2 separate regions of the Homo sapiens genome follow, and region 1 is linked to region 2. Evidence: promoter capture Hi-C in human tissues and cell types (Jung and others, 2019). All regions are on one chromosome and are shown on one strand. Each heading gives the region's core, a stretch centred on a gene start or on the middle of the fragment in contact. The rest is flanking DNA. Distances are from core to core; before and after follow the strand shown. Region 1 overlaps MTHFR (methylenetetrahydrofolate reductase). Region 2 holds the start of MASP2 (MBL associated serine protease 2).

What was found. Contacts are between HindIII fragments. The study calls those that stand out against the background at their distance.
Region 1: a contact is called between a fragment that was not itself captured here and the fragment with the promoter of MASP2 in region 2, in 1 of the 25 tissues and cell types used here (dorsolateral prefrontal cortex).

What each region holds. Positions count from the first base shown.
Region 1 is chr1:11,795,645-11,799,829 of GRCh38, reverse strand. MTHFR (methylenetetrahydrofolate reductase) reads left to right here. Exons shown (of 12, transcript NM_005957.5): 5 at 3,431-3,624. Among named protein-coding and RNA genes, the nearest start is that of MTHFR, 8.2 kb to the left of the region's middle. The HindIII fragment of the contact is 7,275 bases long and covers 1-4,185 here.
Region 2 is chr1:11,044,028-11,050,598 of GRCh38, reverse strand. It overlaps MASP2 (MBL associated serine protease 2), which reads left to right and starts at 3,360. Exons shown (of 11, transcript NM_006610.4): 1 at 3,360-3,396; 2 at 3,480-3,708; 3 at 3,866-4,043; 4 at 5,060-5,191. The coding sequence starts at 3,392. RefSeq lists an enhancer at 4,023-4,855. The HindIII fragment of the contact is 18,625 bases long and covers 1-6,571 here.

The sequences.
Region 1 (4,185 bases), core at 1,410-3,909, 750 kb before region 2:
CGAAACCCCGTCTCTACTAAAAATACAAAAATTAGCCAGGTGTGGTGGTGCACGGCTGTAGTCCCAGCTACTCAGGAGGCTGAGCCAGGAGAATCTCTTGGACCCAAGAGGCGGAGGTTGCAGTGAGCCGAGATGGTGCCGCTGCAGTCCAGCCTCAGTGGCAGAGCAAGACTCCATCTCAAAAAAAAAAAAAAAACAACACCCCACAAAAGAGGGATATTTACTAACAGGATTCCAGAGGGCAGGGAACCCAAGATCAGGAGATGGCCTCAGACCTCACAAGGCACTGGAAGAGGTCAAAAAGCAAGGCCCTCCCTCATTCCCTCTGGGGCCACAGGGTCCCCCATCTCCGCTTCCCACTGCACATCTGTGCTTCATCTGGGAGACCTGATACCCATGCTTTTCCACACACCTGGCCTGCTCCTGAGTGTGCAGAGTGTCAGTTCCAGCCAGTTCCCCAGGCTAATGGACAGGCCTCCGTTCCAAATTCCCAGGAAAGAGAATCACCATTGGCCACAGCCACAAGACCAGGTTCCCCCAACAGAAATGGGTGGGTTGGACTTCTCTCCCACCCTTGAAGCTGAAGGCTGGCATTGAGCCCTCAGCGTCTCAGACAGCGCTCAGGTATGGCAAGACAGTGTGCACCAGGGACAGGAAGTCCCGGGATTGGCACATTTTCTGGGATGACAGTTTTTTTGCCAATATTCTGGGAGAAATCCTACCATTTTTATATTAAACATGGCTATGTTATGGAGTAGCATCTAAAGTGATATGAACTAAAAAAAAAAGGCCAGGTGCGGTGGCTGAAGCCTATAATCCCAGCACTTTGGGAGGCCAAGGCGGGTGGATCATGAGATCAGGAGTTTGAGACCATCCTGTCCAACATAGTGAAACCCCGTCTCTACTAAAAATACAAAAATTAGCCGGGCATGGTGGCGCGTGCCTGTAGTCCCAGCTACTTGGTAGGCTGAGGCAGGAGAATCGCTTGAACCCAGGAGGCGGAGCTTGCAGTGAGCCGAGATCGCACCAATGCACTGTAGCCTGGGCAACAGAGCCAGACTCCGTCTCAAAAAAAACAAAACAAAAAACCCAAAAAACAAACCACGTGGCTTCAAGAAAATTACATGTTGTGAGTAACTTTGGCCTTGTCCCTAACCCCCGATGGACATGTCCATTCTGTCAACAGGGGTGTTTAGGTGCTAAGTCTGGGAAGCACTGATTAGGAGTCAGAGAACAGACATTTCCAACTGTTAAATTGTCATCGCTTGTATCAGCCATTATATAGTCAGTTACTGGGGGAATATGCACCCGTGATGGGCGTTAGGTGATAATGATTGGAAACTAGTGAAGCTGTGAGCTCACAGTTGCTGAATGGTTTCTTACTTTGCTTATCAAGTGGGTAATGAAGATGAGTGGATTAGAAAACACCAACCTGTTGGGCATGGTAGCTCATGCCTGTAATCCCAGAGCTTTGGGAGACTGAGGCAGGAGATCAAGACCAGCCTGGGCAACACAGTGAGACCGTGTCTCTACAAAAAATAAAAACATTTTAAAAAAGAAAGCCCTCAGCTGTTCATGATAGAAAAATAGAGTAAATAGCAAAATCTATACGTAATCAAATGCTAGATTTGTTCGGTGATATTTAGGTATTGTAGCTATACTTTTCAGCTATTAAAAAGCCTTGTTGTTTCTGAAATTCCTACTGGGAAAATAGCTTTGTTATTGCAAGTGTGAAGCCCCATTGCTTTATCCCCCACTCCCTTACCCCTTGAAACAATAGTTTTTATATTCATTTTTTGATGACTCTGGGTTTCTTAAGAACGGAACTGCCTTATCAGAGCAAAGCAGCTTGGCCTTCCGCCTGGCTCAGAGTCCTGCCCTGGGCTTGGGCTGATGAAACCAGCACTCCATGTAGTTTCATGAAGGCCTATGGTCATCCTGCTTGCCTGACCGAGCAAGGCGGCTAGTAAGTTTAGTCATTGAGGAAAGGGGTCAGAGAGTTCACAGAGCCAGTAAGGAGCCTATGGGACATCTGATCCCACCTCCTAAGCAATTCTGGAATCTTGTCTTCAGCATCCACTGCCCCTGTGTTTTCAGACTCCAGGAGCTCATTGTTTTGTGAGTGGCTTATAGTACTCTAGCCAGCTCTCTGAACCGGATGCTGGTTCTGCCATTAGAAACAACACAGAATATGACTAATAAAGAACTTCACTAGGGGGCTGGGTACAGTGGCTCATGCCTGTAATCTCAGCACTTTGGGAGGCCAAGGTGGGAGGATTGCTTGAGCCCAGAAGTTCCAGACAAACCTGGACAAGATAGCAAGACCCCATCTCTAAAAAATAAATAATTAATTAAAAAAATTTTTTTTAATTAGCCAGATGTGGTGGCTTGCATCTGTAGTCCAAGCTACTCAGGAGACTGAAGTGGGAGATCACTTGTGCCCGGGAGTTCAAGGCTACAGTGAGCCATGATTGTATCACTGCACTCTAGCCTGGGTGACAGAGCAAGACCCTGTCTCTGAAACAAAACAAAACAAACTCACCTATGGTGGATCCTTTTTCCCCAGGACAGACCTTTGGACATTTGAAAGGAGTTTCTGTATTCTTTTCATTCTTTTTTTTTTTTTTTTTTTTGAGACGGAGTTTCGCTCTCGTTGCCCAGGCTAGAGTGCAATGGTACGATCTCGGCTCACTGCAACCTCTGTCTCGTGGGTTCAAGCAATTTTCCTGACTCAGCCTCCTGAGTAGCTATTACAGGCATACACCACCACACCTGGCTAATTTTTGTATTTTTGGTAGAGACGGGGTTTTACCATGTTGGCCAGGCTGGTCTCGAACTCCTGACCTCAGGTCATCCTCCTGCCTTGGCCTCCCAAAGTGCTGGGATTACAGACATGAGCCACCGCACCCTGCCATCCATTATTTTCTTTGAAGAAAACATCACTTTCTTCAGTTCTTCCTTGTGTAACTTGGTTTTTAGCTTTTCACTATCTTGGACCCCTGAGTAATTTCAGTGTTACATTAAAAACAATGTTTAATCCGGTGCCTAGAGAAAAGTCAAGCTTACTACCCCAGATGCTGCCCAGCCAGTGCTAACTGTAGCATTTTCTCTTTTCTATGGCCACCAAGTGCAGGCCTGATTTGCTTGGCTGCTCAAGGCAGGACAGTGTGGGAGTTTGGAGCAATCCACCCCCACTCTTGGAACTGGGCTCTGAGCCACCTCCCCTGAGAGTCATCTCTGGGGTCAGAAGCATATCAGTCATGAGCCCAGCCACTCACTGTTTTAGTTCAGGCTGTGCTGTGCTGTTGGAAGGTGCAAGATCAGAGCCCCCAAAGCAGAGGACTCTCTCTGCCCAGTCCCTGTGGTCTCTTCATCCCTCGCCTTGAACAGGTGGAGGCCAGCCTCTCCTGACTGTCATCCCTATTGGCAGGTTACCCCAAAGGCCACCCCGAAGCAGGGAGCTTTGAGGCTGACCTGAAGCACTTGAAGGAGAAGGTGTCTGCGGGAGCCGATTTCATCATCACGCAGCTTTTCTTTGAGGCTGACACATTCTTCCGCTTTGTGAAGGCATGCACCGACATGGGCATCACTTGCCCCATCGTCCCCGGGATCTTTCCCATCCAGGTGAGGGGCCCAGGAGAGCCCATAAGCTCCCTCCACCCCACTCTCACCGCACCGTCCTCGCACAGGCTGGGGGCTCTGGGTGGAGTGCTGAGTTCGCTGAGTTCTTCCCAGATCTCCTCTCAGGTCCAGAACTTGCACAGCGTTGCTTGGCCACCCCATTTTGGTTACCTCTAATTTTCCCCCCAAAACCCAGCAACAGTGTCTGTTGAGGGGTTTGTTGTACTTTGGCCAACAAGCATCACCAAAAGGGATTCTAATTCTCATTACAAATCCTGCTTAAATCAGTGTTTCCCAAAGGTGGCTGTCATCAGAACCACTTGATAAGCTTTTTCAAAAAGTGGATCTCCAGGTCCCACCCCTGGAGGTTCTCACTCAGTAAATCTGAGGGAGGTCCTCGGAATGTGTGTTTTACTTCTTGAGCTTGGCAGGTGATTCGGATGATCAGTGCAGCATGGGAACAGCTGGGTTAGATGACACCATGTTACCAACAGACACATCTAGGGCTAAAAGGCTGGCTCAACCCAAGGCTGGAATGCTTAGGGCAGCTGCTCTACTCTGTAA
Region 2 (6,571 bases), core at 2,111-4,610:
CAGTGAGCCGAGATCGCGCTATTGCACTCCAGCCTGGGCAACGAGCAAAACTCCATCTCAAAAAAAAAAAAAAAAAACAAACCACCAAAGTGCTGGGATTCCAGGTGTGAGCCACCGCATCTGGCCTTATGATAACATTTTATCTCCTACACAGCTTCTTGTTTTCCCTGGAGGTTCTTTTTTTGTTTGTTTCTCATTTACTTAGTTTTCAATAAATTTATCACTAATTTGGCCCCAAATTTTTCACCAATTCTCTAATGCTCCTTGGACTCAACAGGTGTTCTGTCATCGTCCCCTTTCTGGAGAAGCTGTCCAGAGCCTTCTCACCGCCCCCAATGGAGTCCCTTAGTGAATGGCATCTCTTGGACCTTATGTCTTCCTATTGAAACCACCCTTGCAAAATTATGACATAACCGACCCCATCCTGCTCCTGACCTCCAAGCTGACCCTGCTCATTCCTGGGTGTAGGCCCAGCTGACCGGCGGAGGAATTTAGAGTTTAACTTGAAACAAGAATAATAATAGTTCTCCCTAAAACTACTCTCTTCCCTGTTCGGGGGCTGAACCACCACCTTGGTAAGATTTTTTTTTTTGAGACGGAGTCTTGCTCTGTCACCCAGGCTGGAGTGCAGTGGCGCGAGCTTGGCTCACTGCAAGCTCCGCCTCCCGGGTTCACGCCATTCTCCTGCCTCAGCCTCCCAAGTAGCTGGGACTACAGGTGCCCACCACCACACCCGGCTAATTTTGTATTTTTAGTAGAGACGGGCTTTCACCGTGTTAGCCAGGATGGTCTCAATCTCCTGACCTCGTGATCCACCCACCTCAGCCTCCCAAAGTGCAGGGATTACAGGTGTGAGCCACCGTGCCCGGCCTCCACCTTGGCAAGATTAATGAGCAGTCACAAGACAGGTGTAGTTTCTTTCTTTCTTTTTCTTTTCTTTTTTTTTTTAAGATGGAGTCTCGGCTGGACATGGTGGCTCACGCCTGTAATCCCAGCACTTTAGGAGGCTGAGGCTGGCGGATCACAAGGTCAGGAGTTCGAGACCAGCCTGGCCAACATGGTGAAACCCTGTCTCTACTAAAAATACAAAAATTAGCCTGGCGTGTTGACACATGCCTCTAATCCTAGCTACCTGGGAGGCTGAGGCAGCAGAATCGCTTGAATCCAGGAGGTGGATGCTGCAATGAGCTGAGATCGTACCACTGCCCTCCAGCCTGGGACAGAGCGAGACTCCGTCTATTTTTTTTTTTTTTTTTTTTTTTTTTTGAGATGGAGTCTCGCTGTGTCCCAGGCTGGAGTGCAGTAGCACAATCTTGGCTCATTGCAGCCTCCAGGTTCAAGCGATTCTCCTGCCTCAGCCTTCCAGGTAGCTGGGATTACAGGCACGCAACACCATGCCCAGCTAAGTTTTGTATTTTTAGTAGAGATGAGGTTTAACTCCAAAATAATTCTTTTTCCTGATCTTTTGCATGTGATTTACTATTTGATTTTTCTCTTTCTCTTTGTTTGTAAAACATAATTATTCTCTCCAGTGTTTTTAAATATGTGTAAAGCTGTATTAATATTTTTATCTCCTTTTCTGGGCACTTGGGGCACACTTTCGATCAGTATCACGTTCTTCAGTTCTGGGAAATTTTCTTGCATTATTATTATTGCTATGTATGTATTTTTTGAGACAAAATCTTACTCTGTCACCCAGGCTGGAGTTCAATGGCATGAACATGGCTCACTGCAACCTTGAGACCTCCTGGGCTCAAGCGATTGTCCCATCTCAGCCTGCCAAGTAGCTGGGACTAAAGGTGCATGCCACCATGCCTGGCTAATTTAAAAAAATTTTTTTTTTTTTTAGAGACAAGGTCTTGCTATGTTGCCCAAGCTGGTCTTGAACTCCCGGTCTCAGGCGACCCACCTGCCTCAGCCTCCCAGCCTCCTGGGATTATGGGCAGGAGTCACTACACCCAGCCAGAGTCCCGGTCTCTAAAAGAAAATAGGCCAGGCATGGTGGCTCACGCCTGTAATCCCAGCACTTTGGGAGGCTGAGGCGGGTGGATCACCTGTGGTTGGGAGTTCGAGACCAGCCTGACCAACATGGAGAAACTCCGTCTCTACTAAAAATACAAAACTAGCCGGACGTGGTGGCGCATGCCTGTAATCCCAGCTACTCGGGAGGCTGAGGCAGGAGAATTGCTCGAACCCCGGAGGCAGAGGTTTGGTGGCTCACACCTGTAATCCCAGCACTTTGCGAGGCTGAGGCAGGTGCATCGCTTTGGCTCAGGAGTTCAAGACCAGCCTGGGCAACACAGGGAGACCCCCATCTCTACAAAAAACAAAAACAAATATAAAGGGGATAAAAAAAAAAAAAAGACAAGACATGAATCCATGAGGACAGAGTGTGGAAGAGGAAGCAGCAGCCTCAAAGTTCTGGAAGCTGGAAGAACAGATAAACAGGTGTGAAATAACTGCCTGGAAAGCAACTTCTTTTTTTTTTTTTTTTTTTTTGAGGTGGAGTCTCACTCTGTCGTCCAGGCTGGAGTGCAGTGGTGCGATCTCGGATCACTGCAACCTCCGCCTCCCAGGCTCAAGCAATTCTCCTGCCTCAGCCTCCCGAGTAGCTGGGATTATAAGTGCGCGCTGCCACACCTGGATGATTTTTGTATTTTTAGTAGAGATGGGATTTCACCATGTTGGTCAGGCTGGTCTCAAACTCCCAACCTCGTGATCCACCCACCTTGGCCTCCCAAAGTGCTGGGATTACAGGTATAAGCCACCGAGCCCAGCCAAAAGCGACTTCTAAGCCTGCAAGGGAATCGGGAATTGGTGGCACCAGGTCCTTCTGACAGGGTTTAAGAAATTAGCCAGCCTGAGGCTGGGCACGGTGGCTCACACCTGTAATCCCAGCACTTTGGGAGGCTAAGGCAGGTGGATCACCTGAGGGCAGGAGTTCAAGACCAGCCTGACCAACATGGAGAAACCCCATCCCTACCAAAAATAAAAAATTAGCCAGGTGTGGTGGTGCTCGCCTGTAATCCCAGCTACTTGGGAGGCTGAGGTGGGAGGATTGCTTGAACACAGGAAGTAGAGGCTGCAGTGAGCTATGATTGCAGCACTGCACTGAAGCCGGGGCAACAGAACAAGATCCAAAAAAAAGGGAGGGGTGAGGGGCAGAGCCAGGATTTGTTTCCAGGCTGTTGTTACCTAGGTCCGACTCCTGGCTCCCAGAGCAGCCTGTCCTGCCTGCCTGGAACTCTGAGCAGGCTGGAGTCATGGAGTCGATTCCCAGAATCCCAGAGTCAGGGAGGCTGGGGGCAGGGGCAGGTCACTGGACAAACAGATCAAAGGTGAGACCAGCGTAGGGCTGCAGACCAGGCCAGGCCAGCTGGACGGGCACACCATGAGGTAGGTGGGCGCCCACAGCCTCCCTGCAGGGTGTGGGGTGGGAGCACAGGCCTGGGCCCTCACCGCCCCTGCCCTGCCCATAGGCTGCTGACCCTCCTGGGCCTTCTGTGTGGCTCGGTGGCCACCCCCTTGGGCCCGAAGTGGCCTGAACCTGTGTTCGGGCGCCTGGCATCCCCCGGCTTTCCAGGGGAGTATGCCAATGACCAGGAGCGGCGCTGGACCCTGACTGCACCCCCCGGCTACCGCCTGCGCCTCTACTTCACCCACTTCGACCTGGAGCTCTCCCACCTCTGCGAGTACGACTTCGTCAAGGTGCCGTCAGGACGGGAGGGCTGGGGTTTCTCAGGGTCGGGGGGTCCCCAAGGAGTAGCCAGGGTTCAGGGACACCTGGGAGCAGGGGCCAGGCTTGGCCAGGAGGGAGATCAGGCCTGGGTCTTGCCTTCACTCCCTGTGACACCTGACCCCACAGCTGAGCTCGGGGGCCAAGGTGCTGGCCACGCTGTGCGGGCAGGAGAGCACAGACACGGAGCGGGCCCCTGGCAAGGACACTTTCTACTCGCTGGGCTCCAGCCTGGACATTACCTTCCGCTCCGACTACTCCAACGAGAAGCCGTTCACGGGGTTCGAGGCCTTCTATGCAGCCGAGGGTGAGCCAAGAGGGGTCCTGCAACATCTCAGTCTGCGCAGCTGGCTGTGGGGGTAACTCTGTCTTAGGCCAGGCAGCCCTGCCTTCAGTTTCCCCACCTTTCCCAGGGCAGGGGAGAGGCCTCTGGCCTGACATCATCCACAATGCAAAGACCAAAACAGCCGTGACCTCCATTCACATGGGCTGAGTGCCAACTCTGAGCCAGGGATCTGAGGACAGCATCGCCTCAAGTGACGCAGGGACTGGCCGGGCGCAGCAGCTCACGCCTGTAATTCCAGCACTTTGGGAGGCCGAGGCTGGCTGATCATTTGAGGTCAGGAGTTCAAGGCCAGCCAGGGCAACACGGTGAAACTCTATCTCCACTAAAACTACAAAAATTAGCTGGGCGTGGTGGTGCGCACCTGGAATCCCAGCTACTAGGGAGGCTGAGGCAGGAGAATTGCTTGAACCTGCGAGGTGGAGGCTGCAGTGAACAGAGATTGCACCACTACACTCCAGCCTGGGCGACAGAGCTAGACTCCGTCTCAAAAAACAAAAAACAAAAACGACGCAGGGGCCGAGGGCCCCATTTACAGCTGACAAAGTGGGGCCCTGCCAGCGGGAGCGCTGCCAGGATGTTTGATTTCAGATCCCAGTCCCTGCAGAGACCAACTGTGTGACCTCTGGCAAGTGGCTCAATTTCTCTGCTCCTTAGGAAGCTGCTGCAAGGGTTCAGCGCTGTAGCCCCGCCCCCTGGGTTTGATTGACTCCCCTCATTAGCTGGGTGACCTCGGGCCGGACACTGAAACTCCCACTGGTTTAACAGAGGTGATGTTTGCATCTTTCTCCCAGCGCTGCTGGGAGCTTGCAGCGACCCTAGGCCTGTAAGGTGATTGGCCCGGCACCAGTCCCGCACCCTAGACAGGACGAGGCCTCCTCTGAGGTCCACTCTGAGGTCATGGATCTCCTGGGAGGAGTCCAGGCTGGATCCCGCCTCTTTCCCTCCTGACGGCCTGCCTGGCCCTGCCTCTCCCCCAGACATTGACGAGTGCCAGGTGGCCCCGGGAGAGGCGCCCACCTGCGACCACCACTGCCACAACCACCTGGGCGGTTTCTACTGCTCCTGCCGCGCAGGCTACGTCCTGCACCGTAACAAGCGCACCTGCTCAGGTGAGGGAGGCTGCCTGGGCCCCAACGCACCCTCTCCTGGGATACCCGGGGCTCCTCAGGGCCATTGCTGCTCTGCCCAGGGGTGCGGAGGGCCTGGGCCCTGGACACTGGGTGCTTCTAGGCCCTGCTGCCTCCAGCTCCCCTTCTCAGCCCTGCTTCCCCTCTCAGCAGCCAGGCTCATCAGTGCCACCCTGCCCTAGCGACTGAGACTAATTCTAACATCCCACTGTGTACCTGGTTCCACCTGGGCTCTGGGAACCCCTCATGTAGCCACGGGAGAGTCGGGGGTATCTAGCCCTCGTTCCTTGGGACCTGGTTCCCTGGTTCCCTGCACTGTGGGACGGGCCAGTGCTCTGGGGCGTGGGCAGCCCCACCTGCTGGCGCTGACCCTGCCTCCCCCGACTCGGTTTCTCCCTCTCGGTGTCTCTCCTTGCCTCTCTGATCTCTCTTCCAGAGCAGAGCCTCTAGCCTCCCCTGGAGCTCCGGCCTGCCCAGCAGGTCAGAAGCCAGAGCCAGCCTGCTGGCCTCAGCTCCGGGTTGGGCTGAGATGGCTGTGCCCCAACTCCCATTCACCCACCATGGACCCAATAATAAACCTGGCCCCACCCCACCTGCTGCCACGTGTCTCTGGGGTGGGAGGGTCGGGAGGCGGCGGGGTGCGCTCCTCTCTGCCTACCCTCCTCACAGCCTCATGAACCCCAGGTCTGTGGGAGCCTCCTCCATGGGGCCACAGGCTCCTTGGCCTCACCCCCCGTTTTGAAGATGGGGCACTGAGGCCCGGAGAGGGGCAAGGCCTCGCTCGAGTCCAGGTCCCCAGAGGCTGAGCCCAGAGTAATCTTGAACCACCCCCATTCAGGGTCTGGCCTGGAGGAGCCTGACCCACAGAGGAGACACCCTGGGAGATATTCATTGAGGGGTAATCTGGTCCCCCGCAAATCCAGGGGTGATTCCCACTGCCCCATAGGGCACAGCCACGTGGAAGAAGGCAGGCAATGTTGGGGCTCCTCACTTCCTAGAGGCCTCACAACTCAAATGCCCCCCACTGCAGCTGGGGGTGGGGTGGTGGTATGGGATGGGGACCAAGCCTTCCTTGAGGGATAGAGCCCAGCCCAACACCCCGCCCGTGGCAGCAGCATCAGCTGTTCCAGCGAGGAAGGAGAGCACCAGACTCAGTCATGATCACTGTTGCCTTGAACTTCCAGGAGCAGCCCCCAGGGCAGGGGTCAGACCTGGGGAAAGGGGGTGATGAGAGACCCTTCTTCCGGATGGTTCCTCCAGGAACCCAGGGGGCTGGCTGGTCTTGGCTGGGTTCGGGTAGGAGACCCCTGATGAATAAACTTGGGAATCACTGGGGTGGCTGTAAGGGAATTTAGGGGAGCT